Regions from separate parts of the Homo sapiens genome. Here region 1 is linked to region 2. Evidence: promoter capture Hi-C in human tissues and cell types (Jung and others, 2019). All regions are on one chromosome and are shown on one strand. Each heading gives the region's core, a stretch centred on a gene start or on the middle of the fragment in contact. The rest is flanking DNA. Distances are from core to core; before and after follow the strand shown.

Region 1 (7,080 bases), core at 4,422-6,921, 270 kb before region 2:
GGCTCCTTTACTGGATCCTGTTTGATCAACGGGGTCTTTGTGACCTGTATCTTGTAAAACAAGTCCTGCCAAATTCCTATCTCATATCCTCCAGAGTGATGGTGCAGTGATTTTTGTAGCCAGTTTGATCACGGAACTCTGCTGTTTAACATTTTTCATAGGTTCTTCATTGCCTTTACAATATACCATGCCTTAGCCTTGTTTACAAGCCCTTCATGACCCAACCCCTGTCTATCTCCTGAGCTGCATTTTAGCTATTTATTCACGTGCATGATGTTATCAGAACCACATGGAACTACCTGATTCTTGGGTACAGCTTTGCTTTTTTTTGCTTCTGTACCCTGTGCATGCTGTTCCTGTTCCTCGAAGTAACCCTCCTCCCCCATCCTCTTCTTTACCCTTACTCCCTTTTCTTTCTGTTTGACAGCTCTATTGAGATATATCCCCATTCTATTCTATTCTTTTTTTTTTTGAGGTGGAGTCTTGCTCTGTCACCCAGGCTGGAGTGCAGTGGCTCAATCTCAGCTCACTGCAATCTCCACCTCCTGGGTTCAAGCGATTCCCCTGCCTCAGCCTCCCGAGTAGCTGGGATTACAGGCATGCACCACCACGCCCAGCTAATTTTTTGTACTGTAGTAGAGACAGGGTTTCACTGTGTTAGCCAGGATGGTCTCGATCTCCTGACCTCGTGATGTGCCCGCCTTGGCCTCCCAAAGTGCTGGGATTACAGGCGTGAGCCACCGTGCCCCCACCGCCACCCCCGCACTGCCACCCCCCACCCCCCGCCACCCTCATCCTTATTCTAGACCCCTTAACACTTACCCTACTGGGTTGGAATTTTGTTGCCACCCACTACATTGTGGAATCCTTGAGCTCAAGGATTGGGTCTCTGATCTTTTAAGCCTTTAGCGTCCTTGTACAACCAGGCTTAGGGACTTGATAAGAAAACAAAGGGTTATAGTTCCCTCATGCTGACATTCATGGTGCCGATGAATACCAGATTCTGAGTTTGCTGCCCATGGTAGTTACTTGGCTTCACATGGGGAAAAAAGTAACAATAAGGAGTTACAATAAAATAAATACAAAACAATAAAAATCCCATGCAGGCATCTTACACATGCATAGGATAGGTAACAAGATTGATTGGGGAACAGAGTGTGTGTGACTCAAATAGAACATCCCTGCTGCAGGGCAAATAACTCAGATTCCATGAAGTCATTGTATATATAGGGCAGCAAACCATTATTATTTCGTGCTGGAGAGAAAAACAGGCGTTGAAGAAATCGGCCTCCCTTGGGATTGATTTGATTATTGGGTGACTCCTTGGATGGGGGTGTTCTCGATTTGTGGGCATCTTGGCAGGCAGTTTGGTGCAATGGTGATGAGCGTGGTGTTTAGAGCTGATCAGACCTGGGTTTGCATGCTGGCTGTATGAGACTTTAGGCATATTATTTACCTTAACTTCTACCTCAGTTTCCATAGCTTTTTTTTTTTTTTTTTGAGGCAGAGTTTTGCTCTGTCCCTCCAGGCTGGAGTGGTCTTGGCTCACTGCAACCTCCGCCTCTCGGGTTCAAGCGATTCTCCTGTCTCAGCCTCCCAAGTAGCTGGGATTACAGGCACCCACTACCATGCCTGGCTAATTTTTGTATTTTTAATAGAGATGGGGTTTCCTCACGTTGGCCAGTCTGGTCTCGAACTCCTGACCTCAGGTGATCCACCTGCCTTGGCCTCCCAGAGTGCTGGGATAACAGCCATGAGCCACCACGCCCAGCCATTAGTTTCCGTATCTTTAAGTGGGAATAATAAGGCCCACATCAGAGGATTGTTGTGAAAGTTACAATTGTTTTCCTAAACGTAAATGCTCCACTGAGAGCTTGACACCAGTTCTCAGTATTTGCTGATGGTCACTGCCATATTACGTATTTTGCATCCATTGCTCAGAATGCTGGTCATTACTATTTGCCTTCTTTATTAATAAAAGAAACCTGCTGTCTCGGAGCGTCCTTCCCAACCTCCTGGTCACCATTTTGGGTGGGGACCTTGTCTTTCTGACCCCTGGCCACTGTCACCTTAAGTCAGTTTCAATCTTGGTTCTGTTTGTCTGGTTTTAGCACCATCAGGTCCCTGTTTGTCTGGTTTTAGCACTGTCATTGAAGACATTTTTGCCCAAGGAAGTCACAGCCCTTCTGTGGATCTCTGAGTTTGTTATAGTGTATTTGGACCACAAACTTAAACCAAAAATTCATGTTCATAGTCTCAGTCTCCTCCTATCCAGATCCTCCCTGCATGTGATAAAATGTGACCAAGAATCTTAAGAGGTTAAGGGGATTGAAGGGGAGGGGAATCTTAGATAAGGTGACAGATAAACCAGCTTGGAAACACGGAGTTTTCTGCAACAGATTGCATCCAAGATCTCCTGAAATATCTCCCTGCTTGGTATAAGGGAAAATACTCTCCTCTCATTTGGTGTCACAGGACCTATGAATTTTTTTTTTTTTGAGATGGAGTTTCACTCATGTTGCCCAGGCTGGAGTGCAATGGAACGATCGATCTCGGCTCACTGCAACATCCGCCTCCCAGCTTCAAGCGATTCTCCTGCCTCAGCCTCCAGAGTAGTTGGGATTACAGGCATGCACCACCACGCCCGGCTAATTTTGTATTTTTAGTAGAGACCGAGTTTCTCCATGTTGGTCAGGCTGGTCTCGAACTCCCGACCTCAGGTGATCCGCCCACCTCAGCCTTGCAAACTGCTGGGATTACAGGCATGAGCCACCGTGCCTGGCCAGATGTTTTCAAGTTGATGTGTCTTGTGACATGGCAGAGGGGACATTGGTTCTCTCAGCCAGTCGACTACAGTTTTTGAGCTCTTTCTGTGCCCCAGCACCTGTCTGTCCTGGCCGTATAATCGGATCCTCCAAGGTGGTGGTTGTAGGGCTCTCTCTGCTCACCTTTTTTCTCTAATTCCCTCTGTTAACCAGCGAACAAAGAAAAGCCCTCCGCTGTCTGCCGTGACAGCCCACACAGGGAAGAGGGCAGAGATCTTCCTGTTTCTGATGACTTCTTGCTTTGAAAAGAGGAGGCAATTTTTGCTCATCAGCAAAAAAAAAAAAAAAAAAAAAAAAAAAAAAAGGTGGTGGGGGAGGGAGGGGAGTTGAGTTGGTGGTGAAGCTCTTTCAAAGATTTGCCTGTCCCTCTAGCCAGATTACTAATGCATGCTGATTAGAATGTGTGCTGGGAGAGACAGTGAGCTGGGGTTTAGGGATGTTCACAGGAGAGGTATGAGACAGGCTCCGTGTATGGTTTTCTGGAGCCCTGTGGTGGGCGTGGCTGTCAGATCCTGATAGGGTTTAGAATTTCAGATGGGCTTCTTCTGCCTCACCTGGGAGAAAATAGCCGGAGTGGACATGAAGCCAGACTCCTTCCTCATCTATGCAGAGTCCTCTATGTGGAGTCATTCAGAGAGTGTGGGGGTGGGGGCGGCGAGTTTGGGAGATGTTGGTATGGACTTGCCAAGGCATTGCCAAGCATTCCACGGGCACCACAGAACCATCTCTGGCCTAAGCCCTTCGTCCTGGTCCAAGAAGCCAGCGATACTTCTTGGCATTGCTGAATGGGAGAGGCAGGGGAGCTGAGCTTGCCTGGAATCCCCCATCTCCCAGCCCTGGTGCTTGCTTCAGGGGCCTGGATAAAGCAGCTGCTCATTCTGCCACATACACTCCCAGGGGACTGTGACTCAGGCTCTGGATCACTCCCTCCAGGAATCCCTCCGGCTCTGTAGGACCCAGTTTGAAAACCCAGTGTTATGTGATGCTAAATGCTGACATTCCTTCCCTGCCTGTCAGCTTTGCTCTCGGAGGTGCCTAATGGCGCCAGTGCTGACCTAATGCGGCCGGTGTTCTGGTTTGTTTCTGAATTGCGTGTTGAGGTAGTTGGGGGGCTTTGTTACTCTGGGTGGCTGGTCTGCTTTATTATTAGTCTTGGGGAAATGATTTCTCTGAGAAGCAGTAGAAGGTGTAAATTATGCTTCACTGCAAATCATCAAGACTATATATATATTCAGCTACAGCTGCAAGTCTCTTGCAAATGAGGACTGATGTGAGATGCAGCCAAGTTGGAAAGGGTTACGGTGCAGACAGGCAGCTGACATGATTGATAATCATGCAGTCACCTGTACTTGGCTTTCTATGGCTTGTGGTCTGGGGAGAAGAGCAGCAGTCATGCTTAGAGGCTATACTCCATCTGAGAAGGCTGGAGGGCAGCAGTGAGAAGGTAACACCTCCATAGGAGCAGACACAGTCTCCATTAACCTGGTCCTTAGTAAATATCTCTTGGGTTTCCACCGAGCCAGGGACCCCACACATGGCGTCAGCAGCATCCTCTCCACACCTGATCTCCACTGGCTCCCCATTGCTTGAAGTGTCAAGACACTCCTCATCTGGACCTTGCACAAATATGGACCCTGTACAAACTGCACCTGGCCTCACTCCTTCTCCAGCCTCCTTACTTTCCCTCTCCTGGGGAGCGGGAAGCAACCTGACACCTCTGTGCCTTTGCTCGGCTGCAGCTTCTGTCTAGAGGCCCTTCTCATCCCTGTCGAGGGAATGATGATCTTTTATCAAGATCCAGCCCATGGACCCCTTCCTCTGTGTGGCCTTTGCTCTCCCCCAGGCAGAGTCCTTTCTTCTGCTGGCTTGCATGGGGATCTCCTGCTGGGATGGCACCAACCACATGGGACTGCGATGCCTTATTTATTTGACTGTTTCCTCCATTACACTCTGAGCTCTGCAGGGCCAGGAACGCCACTTCCTAAACTTTTGTAACTACTCTGGTCTGGCATGGTGCTTGGTGTCTCTGAAGTCTGGCTCAGTAAGTATTTGATGACTGGATGGGTGAATCAAAGAGGATAAAGGGAGAGCTTGCCTTAAGAACTGGGGACATCTTGTCTGATTTTGGCTCACGGCTTAACCAGCTTGGGGTCACGGACGGCCAAGGTTAGAAGGAGTATAGCCAGGTCATCTTGGAGTGCTGACTATTAAGGGAAGGCCACTGGCTCCTGGAGAACAAGGCCATTGAGCCCCAGGCCAGGACTCCCAGGATTGGCAAGTGAAAGGCAGCTGGATGCTTGGAGTGGTCCTCTCTCCTCATCTCCTTCTCAGTAGGGCTGCTGCAGGGACAGCTGGGTGTAGCTGAGGGCCCTGGGTTTTAACTACGGTACCTTCCAACACCCCTTCCACAGAGTTATTGGCTCTTTGGCCTTGCAATGTTCATGTAAGATCTCTGACCTTCAGTTTTTTCAGCTGTCAAAAGGGTGGTGACACCCATTCTGCTGCCCATTCAGGGTGACTAGAAGGATTTTGAGGATGACTGGAAGGATTTTGAAGGTGATGGTGGCTGTGTACGGGATTTGAAGTTTACGGGTGATGAATGCAAGCGGTGCTAAGAGACGCTGTGCAGGGAGGAGAGTGGGGGAGTCTCTCCCCAGCTCTTGCACCCAGCTGTCCCGACTCAACCAGGTGGCTTGGTCTAACCCCTCACCTCTCTGCTGTGGTCATCCTTTCTCCTCTGGCCTCTTTGAAGTTGCTTCTGAGGCCTCCTCCTAAGACCTCCTCCCTGTCCCTGCTATCCGATTAGGAAAGCTGTTGGAATTCTTGGCCCAGACAAGCTTTAATCATTTGCAGTAAGAGCTCTGTTGCCTCCTTCATCCTTCCCTGCCTTCAGTTAAGCCCCTCTAAGGCTCGAGGTGTGTTCTCAACCCTGGGATATAGCCGAGAATGAGATGGAGTGGACAGGACTCAGGGGTCCCTAGGATCAGAGGGTTCATTGTCCGTGGGGAACCAGACCGAGTGATAACGGGGATGTGCCCAGCACAGTGAGGGGCCCCAGGGGACAGTCAGGGCTGTGGGAGTGCTCAAGAATACCATGGGCTGAGTTTGGACCCACTCCCCACTCGTATTTGAAGTCCCAACCCCTAGTACCTCAGAATGTGACTGCATGTGGAGAAAGAGTCTTTAAAGAGGTAAGTTAAAATGCATGGCCAGCTGTAGTAGCTCATGCCTGTAATCCTAACCCTTTGGGAGGCCAAGACAGGAGGATCACTTAAGGCCAGGAGTTGAAGACAAGCCTGGGCAACATGGTGAGACCTTGGCTCTACAAAGTACAAATAAAAAGAAAAAGAATTTTTGACCACACTGTTGTAGGTCAAGGAAAATAACTAACTAACTAACTAACTAACTAAATAAAATGCGGTCATTAGGGTGGGCCCTCATCCTGTATGACTGGTGTCCTTTTAAGAAAGGGAAATGAGGACACAGATACACACAGAGGGAAAACCGTGTGAAGACATAGGGAGAAGACGGCTGTTTGTAAGCCAGTGGGGAGAAGCCTTACAAGCAACCTTGAGCTTGGATTCCCAGCTTCTAGAACTGTGAGGAAATAAATTTCAGTGGTTTAAGCCACCCAGTCTATGATTCTTTTTTGTGGCAGCCCCAGCAAACTCACACAAGCCCCTTACCCTGGGCTTGGGTAGGCAACTTATTTACATAGTTCCACATGGGATCAAAACCTTGAAAAAACATAGGGACCTAGGGACAGTTTGCTTGTCCCATTTTTCTTACTAACATGTATTCCTAGCTGAAGGGTTATATAGTTCACTTCTTTACCTTATTATCATTAGAATGTGAACTCCAGGCCGCGCGTGGTGGCTCGTGCCCATAATCCCAACACTTTGGGAGGCCGAGGCAGGAGCATCACTTGAGCCCAGGATTTCGAGACCAGCCTGGGCAACATAGTGAGACCCCCATCTCTATAGAAAATAAAAAATTAGCCAGGCGTGGTGGCATGCACGTGTGGTCCCAGCTACTCGGAAGTCTAATGTGGGAGTATCGCTTGAGTCCAGGAGGCCGAGGCTGCAGTGAGCTGTGATTGTGCCACTGCACTCCAGCCTGGGTGACAGAGTGAGACCCTGTCTCAGAGAAAGGAATGTGAGCTGCATGAGGGCAGAGCTGCATCAGGTCAAAGCCCGTGAAGGCACTGGCACGTGTCTTTTGGAAGAATTCTGTCTGAACCTGGGGCCTGAAGTCA
Region 2 (6,786 bases), core at 3,021-5,520:
GAGAAGATGAGGACGCTGGGCAACCCTCTTTCCTGGAGGGCTGTCACATTCTTTGAACGACCCGTCTCAGCGTTTCCCCCAGGTTCTTGGGATTGGTGGTGATTTTACCTCTGATGACTTAGCAGAGAGACAAAAGGCATCCGCCCCCTTTCATCCGTTCTTGGAGGTGCCAGAGGCCACTTGCGAGAAATGGTGGGATGAGGGCCAGTGCTGCCTGCTGCAGGCTTTTGGCTTGGACTGGGAGAAGTGGGCAGCCATAGTGCATGACCTGATTTCATGGCCATGGGGCTCACTGCGGGGCTGTAAGGGGACAAGAGCAGAAGCAGGAAGAGCTGTTAGGAGGCAGCGGTGATGCTGCCTGCACAAGGCAGGTGCAAGGGAGGCGGGAAGAACGGTCTGGTTCTGGATGTACCTTGAAGGTAGAGTCAAGATGATTTCTTGATAGATTGGAGTGGGTTGTGACCGAAAGAGAAACACTGAGAATGATGCCAAGGACCTCAATCCAAGTCATCAAAAGGATGGATTGTCATTTTCTGCAATGGGGACAGCTGTGGGAGGAGGGTCCTTCCCCATTCTCTGTCTCCCCCGCCACCTTCTCCATACCCCCTTTTCCCTCTCAATGCGGACTTCTCTGCAGGTGCTGGCTCCAGGCCAGAGGGCAGGAGGGTCGTCTTGGCCTTCAGCTCATAGCAGGCAAGGTCGAGCAATGGGGAAGGGGTGGCGTCTGGGTCCCAGCTAATGGCCAAGATGGAGCTCCTGCTTGAGGGGACAGGGCCAGCTTCTGGGAAGCATCTTTCAGTCCAGCGAGGAGAGCGAGACCAAAACTGGGATCCTCTGCCTGGAGATGAAGCCTTCTCCTCTAGAGCAGTCTTTGGGTTTTGGGAGAGTTTATGGCCCCAGCTCAGACTTAACAAATCGACTCACAATACATCATCTCCAACAACTTGTTTGGCTAAGGAGCATAAGCTCTCCCTCTGATAGAAGATGTTTATGCAGGTTTTCAAACAAACCTCCAGGTCATGACCCCTCACTCTCAGCATCAACACAGCTGCCTGCGGTCCCCTGGGGCCCCTCCTGGGCACAGCAACCTGGAGAATGTGGACTGTACCAGGCTGCTTCCGACCTGGGTCCAGCTCCTTCCTCCTTGTGCCTGGAGAGGACAGCAAAGACTGGAGGGCTCTGGCTGCCTTCTGCCTCGCCCAGGGCCTCTTTCATTGACATGGTAACCCCACCTCCTCACCTACTTGTCCTCTAGGCTCAGGCCTCCTGTGACGTAGACAAAGGAAGCCTAAATGGACAGGCTGGCAGACCTGGACTTTCCTTCCTTCTGGCATTGCCATTTAGCAACCATGTGACCCCAGGCTGGTGACATGCCTTTAGGAGGCCCCACTTCTCACTTGTAACACTGGCTTCGCCTCATCTGCTGCAGGCTTGATGTGGACAGGGGTGCGATCCAGGAGGCACTTCCAGTCGCCCCCTACTAGTGGCTCAGAGCAAGGGGCCGAGGCCTCTGACCTCACTCTCCCTCCATCCCCAGGGCTGCAAGGAAGCTCTGGAATGAATGCGATTCCAGGGTGTGGCTTGGGCTCCCGTTTGTTTTCAAGGCTAGTGACTGTCCTGTTTCTAACTGCTCTTGAGAATAAATGCACGCTACAGGATGGTGAAAGCCTAGGAGAGGAAGGACTCCTATTCAGAAGTAATATTCTCACTGGGCGCAGTGGCTCATGCCTGTAATCCCAGCACTTGGGGAGGCCAAAGCAGGCAGATCATGAGGTCAGGGGATCGAGACCGGCCTGACCAACAAGGTGAAATCCCATCTCTGCTAAAAACACAAAAATTAGCTGGGCATGGTGGTGAGCGCCTGTAATCCCAGCTACTTGGGAGGCTGAGGCAGGAAAATCGCTTGAACCTGGGAGGCAGAGGTTGCAGTGAGCCGAGATCGTGCCATTGCACTCCAGCCTGGGCGCAGAATGAGGCTCTGTCTTAAAAAAAAAAAAACAAAAAAAACAAACAAACAAAAAAAAAAAAACTCACAAAGTGATGGAAAAAAATTAGAAAGTTCACACACACACCCCAATATGCAGGTTTCCTGAGAAATCTCTGAAACTGTACTGGGCAGAGCGGCTGGGAGGGATGAGTCTGCCCCTTGGTGCCTGAACCTCTCGGTCCTTCCAGAGTGACATGAGGTGGGCCTGGCAGGTGGCTTTCTCCCAGCAGCAGGGACCTACCTTCTGCTGCCACTAGCCTGTTAGTAAGTAGGCTAAAATCCCCACTTTACACTTTGAGATGCAAGGCGGGCGGATCACCTGAGGTCAGGAGTTTACGAGACCAGCCTGACCAATATGGTGAAACCTCGACTCTACTAAAAATACCAAAAAAAAATTAGCTGGGCGTGGTGGCAGACACCTGTAGTCCCAGCTTCTCAGGGGACTGAGACAGGAGAATTGCTTGAAACCAGGAGGCGGAGGTTGCAGTGAGCCAAGATCGTGCCCAGCCTAAGTGACAGAGGGAGACTCCGTCTAAAAAAAAACCAGTTTACCTGCCTGGAGACCGTGGGGTTTATTCTTCATCATTCTCACCCCAGGGCAAAAAGAGACAACTCTCCATCCACGGTGGCAAGGCTGGGGTTCTGAGTGTGTCCCCTCGAGCACTGCGCTCCGCTAAGGAAAGTGCACGCCCACCCTCCCTTCCTTCTGGGTGACAAGAATCCAGGTGTGCAGCGTCCTCACTAGGTTGCTTCCTCGTGCTTGATACTCCCCGCTGAGCTGCACAGACGCGAAGCCTGCCTTTGCACAGCTCCGTCTCTGACCACTCAGTTATTTATCCATTCACTCAGCAAACACGTTTTCTTGCCTGCTCACTCCAAGTCCACTGCAGACGGACACCCTGCAGCCTGCCATGGACCCACAGATAGATTGTGTTTGGCCCACACCATGTTTTGTTTTGTTTTTGTTTTTGTTTTTGTTTTGTTTTTTTGAGATGGAGTCTCACACTTGTCACCCAGGCTGGAGTGCAATGGTGCAATCTCGGCTCACTGCAACCTCTGCCTCCCGGGTTCAAGCGATTCTCCAGCCTCAGCCTCCCAAGTAGCTGGGATTACAGTCACCTGCCACCATGCCCGGCTAATTTTTTGTATTTTTAGTAGAGACAGGGTTTCACCATGTTGGCCAGGCTGGTCTCGAACTCCTAACCTTGTAATCTCCCCACTCAGTCTCCCAAAGTGCTGGGATTACAGACGTGAGCCACCATTAAAATTTTGAATTAATTGCCAAAGTTGAAAAGTGTGGAAATTGCAAGAAAAATTCTGATTTTTGGATTTCTCTTGAATAATTTAAAAAAACCCAAAAATCTCACCATCCCATGTGACCACGTTCTCTGGCAGCCCCTTCCCGAGGTGACACAGGCCTGGCTGCCCCCTGCTGGTCCCTTCAGGCAGTTCACCTTCACTCCCTGTGACTGATGGACAATAACAAAACGAGTGTTTAGCATTAGCCATGTGCCAGTTTCTAAGTGTGTCAGACATATTGACTCACATCAGCCTCACAATGACAGTGTGGTAGATGCTATGATGCCCATTTATTCAAGAAAGACTTGCTGGGGGCCCAAGCCTATCAGGTTCTGGCAATGGAAATGCATCCGGGAACAACACAGACAAAATCCCATCCTTCACGGAGCTTTCATTCCGGTGAGGGGACATGCAGCGTGCCGATGATGGTGGGGGTTGTGCTATTATAGATAGAGGGTCAGTATAGGCCTGGCTGAGCAGGTGACATTTAAGCAGAGACATGACTGCAGTGAAGGTTTAGAAGAGTGTCCCAGGTGGAAAGAGGTGAAGAAACAAGCCTGGGGCCACACAGCTAGTTAAGTAGCCAAGCTGGGACTTGAACCCATGCTGGCCCCAGAGTCTGTGCTCCTAACCATTGCATTCTAGGGCTTGATATGAGATGCCAGCCCCGCCCCGAGATGCTCAGAGTTAGTGAGGAAGAGAAACAGGGAACATGGCTGCTGTTAGAGGGCTGGGGCTGGGGGTGCCGGAGGCCCCAGCTCTGAGGGTTCCAACCTCCTGTCCTGTTCTAGTATCGTCCCGGGAGGCCGAGATGAATTGCCTGCCTGCCCTGGGCTCTTTATTTTAATCTCACTAGGGTTCTGGGAGCACCCCCCCCCACCGCTCCCGCCCTCCACAAAGCTCCTGGGCCCCTCCTCCCTTCAAGGATTGCGAAGAACTGGTCGCAAATCCTCCTAAGCCACCAGCATCTCGGTCTTCAGCTCACACCAGCCTTGAGCCCAGCCTGCGGCCAGGGGACCACGCACGTCCCACCCACCCAGCGACTCCCCAGCCGCTGCCCACTCTTCCTCACTCATGGGGAACAGCAAAAGTGGGGCCCTGTCCAAGGAGATCCTGGAGGAGCTGCAGCTGAACACCAAGTTCTCGGAGGAGGAGCTGTGCTCCTGGTACCAGTCCTTCCTGAAGGACTGTCCCACCGGCCGCATCACCCAGCAGCAGTTCCAGAGCATCTACGCCAAGTTCTTCCCCGACACCGACCCCAAGGCCTACGCCCAGCATGTGTTCCGCAGCTTCGATTCCAACCTCGACGGCACCCTGGACTTCAAGGAGTACGTCATCGCCCTGCACATGACCACCGCGGGCAAGACCAACCAGAAGCTGGAGTGGGCCTTCTCCCTCTACGACGTGGACGGTAACGGGACCATCAGCAAGAATGAAGTGCTGGAGATCGTCATGGTCAGTCTCCCCTCTCCCCTTCTGGCTGGGCGGTGCCGGGGTCGCTCCGGGCTGGGGGTCCCCTGCTGCAGCTGCTGCAGAGGGAGTGGATCTGTGGGTGGAGCGGGGGATGCGGGCCACTGGCTCTGAGAGCGTGGTGCTCCGAGATGCTGATATTGATAGAGGGGTGGGCACTTGCCCACAGCTTCGTTGTCTTCCCGGAGCAGAATCTGAGTGTTTCCTAATACAGCCATGTTATGCTTGGCTTCACGATGTTTGGGTCAACAACGGACGATATAGACCACTGTGGTCCCATAAGATTGTAATGGAGCTGAAAAATTCCTACTGCCTAGTGACGTCATAGCACAGTTACTTTATTTTTCAAATGCATTTAGTGTAGCCTAAGTGTATCCGTAAAGTCTGTAGTTGTGTACGGTAATGTCCTAGTTCTTCACATTCACTCACTACTCACTCACTGACTCACCCAGAGCAACTCCCAGTCCTGCAAGCTCCACTCATGGTGAGTGCCCTAGACAGGTCTACCATTTTGTATCTTGGTTTTTTATTTTTTATTTTTTTGAGATGGAGTCTCACTCTGTAGCCCAGAGCTGGAGTGCAATAGTGCGATCTTGGCTCACTGCAACCTCTGCCTCCCGAGTTCAAGCAATTCTCCTGTCTCAGCCTCCCGAGTAGCTGGGATTACAGGTGTGCACCACTATGCCTAGCTAATTTTTGTATTTTTAGTAGAGACGGGGTTTCACCATGTTGGTCAGGCTGGTCTCAAACTCCCGACCTCCAGCGATCCGCCAGCCTCAGCCTCCCAAAGTGCTGGGATTTACAGGCATGAGCCACTGTGCCCGGCCCATTTTTTATCTTTATACTGTATTTTTACTGCATGATTTCTATGTTTAGCTATGTTTAGATGCACAAATACTTACCATCGTGTGACAACTGCCTGCAACATTCAGGACAGTCACGTGCTGCACAGGTTTGTAGCCTAGGAGCAAAAGGCTGGACCATGGAGCTCAGGGATGTAGTCGGCTCTACCATCTGTGTTCGTGCAAGGATGCTCTATGATGTTCCCACATAGAAGTTGCCTTAAGATGTGTTTCTCGGAATGTATTCCTGTCTCTGAGCGACACGTGACTATATTTACATTTTTTCTTTCTCTCCATCCTTTGTTTCTTCCTTCCTTTATTAAAATGTCCTTTGAAATTTTCAGCAGTACACATTCAAGTTGAATCACTGTTCATTCTAAACACACAATATGCTTCTAATATAAAGTAGAAAGAGGTCAAAGTTGGGGGCATGAACTCTGAGTTCTAGTCCTCATGTTCTCCCCAGCGCGGGGCGGATCATGGCACCACGCATGAGCCCCCGCTTCCCACGCGCGGCGTGGCTCCCCGGCTCCTGACAGTTTCCCTGTGAGGCGCACAGGCTTCCATATGGTTCCCAACACGCCTTCTCCCCTGTCCATACTGTCCTCCTGTCAGATCCTTTGTTGTGAAAGTAATGGCAAAAACCATAATTACTTTTCCACTAACCTCGTAGGTGTCTTGAAAATGGTTTATCTGATATAAAAGTAACTCATGAAATTTAGAAACCTAGGCAAAAGAGACTAACAATTGCCTCTAATTCCAACATCCAGGGAAAACTTTTCTTAGTATATCAGTATATACCTTTTCAGTCTTTTACCTATATAATTTTAAATAATGTTAAAGCTATGACATATTCACATACGATTTTTTATCATACATTTTTCAGTTACTCTTTTATCATGAGTGCTTTCCATATCATTACATATTCTTCCAAAACACTTTTTTTTTTTCTTCAGACAGAGTTTTGCTCTTGTCGCCCAGGCTGGAGTGCAGTGGCGTGATCTCAGCTCACTGCAACCTCCCCCTCCTGGGTTTGAGCAATTCTCCTGCCTCAGCCTCACGAGTAGCTGGGATTACAGGCACCTGCCCAGCTAATTTTTGTATTTTAGTAGAGACGGGGTTTCACCATGTTGGCCAGGCTGGTCTCGAACTCCTGACCTCAGGTGATCTGCCCGCCTCGGCCTCCCA

The links. The method cuts DNA at HindIII sites, captures the fragments that hold promoters and counts their contacts. A contact is called where the count stands out against the background at its distance.
Region 1: a contact is called between a fragment that was not itself captured here and the fragment with the promoter of RCVRN in region 2, in 3 of the 25 tissues and cell types used here (dorsolateral prefrontal cortex, spleen and thymus).

Annotation. Positions count from the first base shown.
Region 1 is chr17:10,174,752-10,181,831 of GRCh38, reverse strand. The region is part of intron 1 of GAS7 (growth arrest specific 7); the gene reads left to right. Among named protein-coding and RNA genes, the nearest start is that of GAS7, 20 kb to the left of the region's middle. RefSeq lists an enhancer at 734-1,276. The HindIII fragment of the contact is 9,101 bases long and covers 1,121-7,080 here.
Region 2 is chr17:9,902,755-9,909,540 of GRCh38, reverse strand. It overlaps RCVRN (recoverin), which reads left to right and starts at 4,270. Exons shown (of 3, transcript NM_002903.3): 1 at 4,270-4,741. The coding sequence starts at 4,361. The HindIII fragment of the contact is 14,018 bases long and covers 1-6,786 here.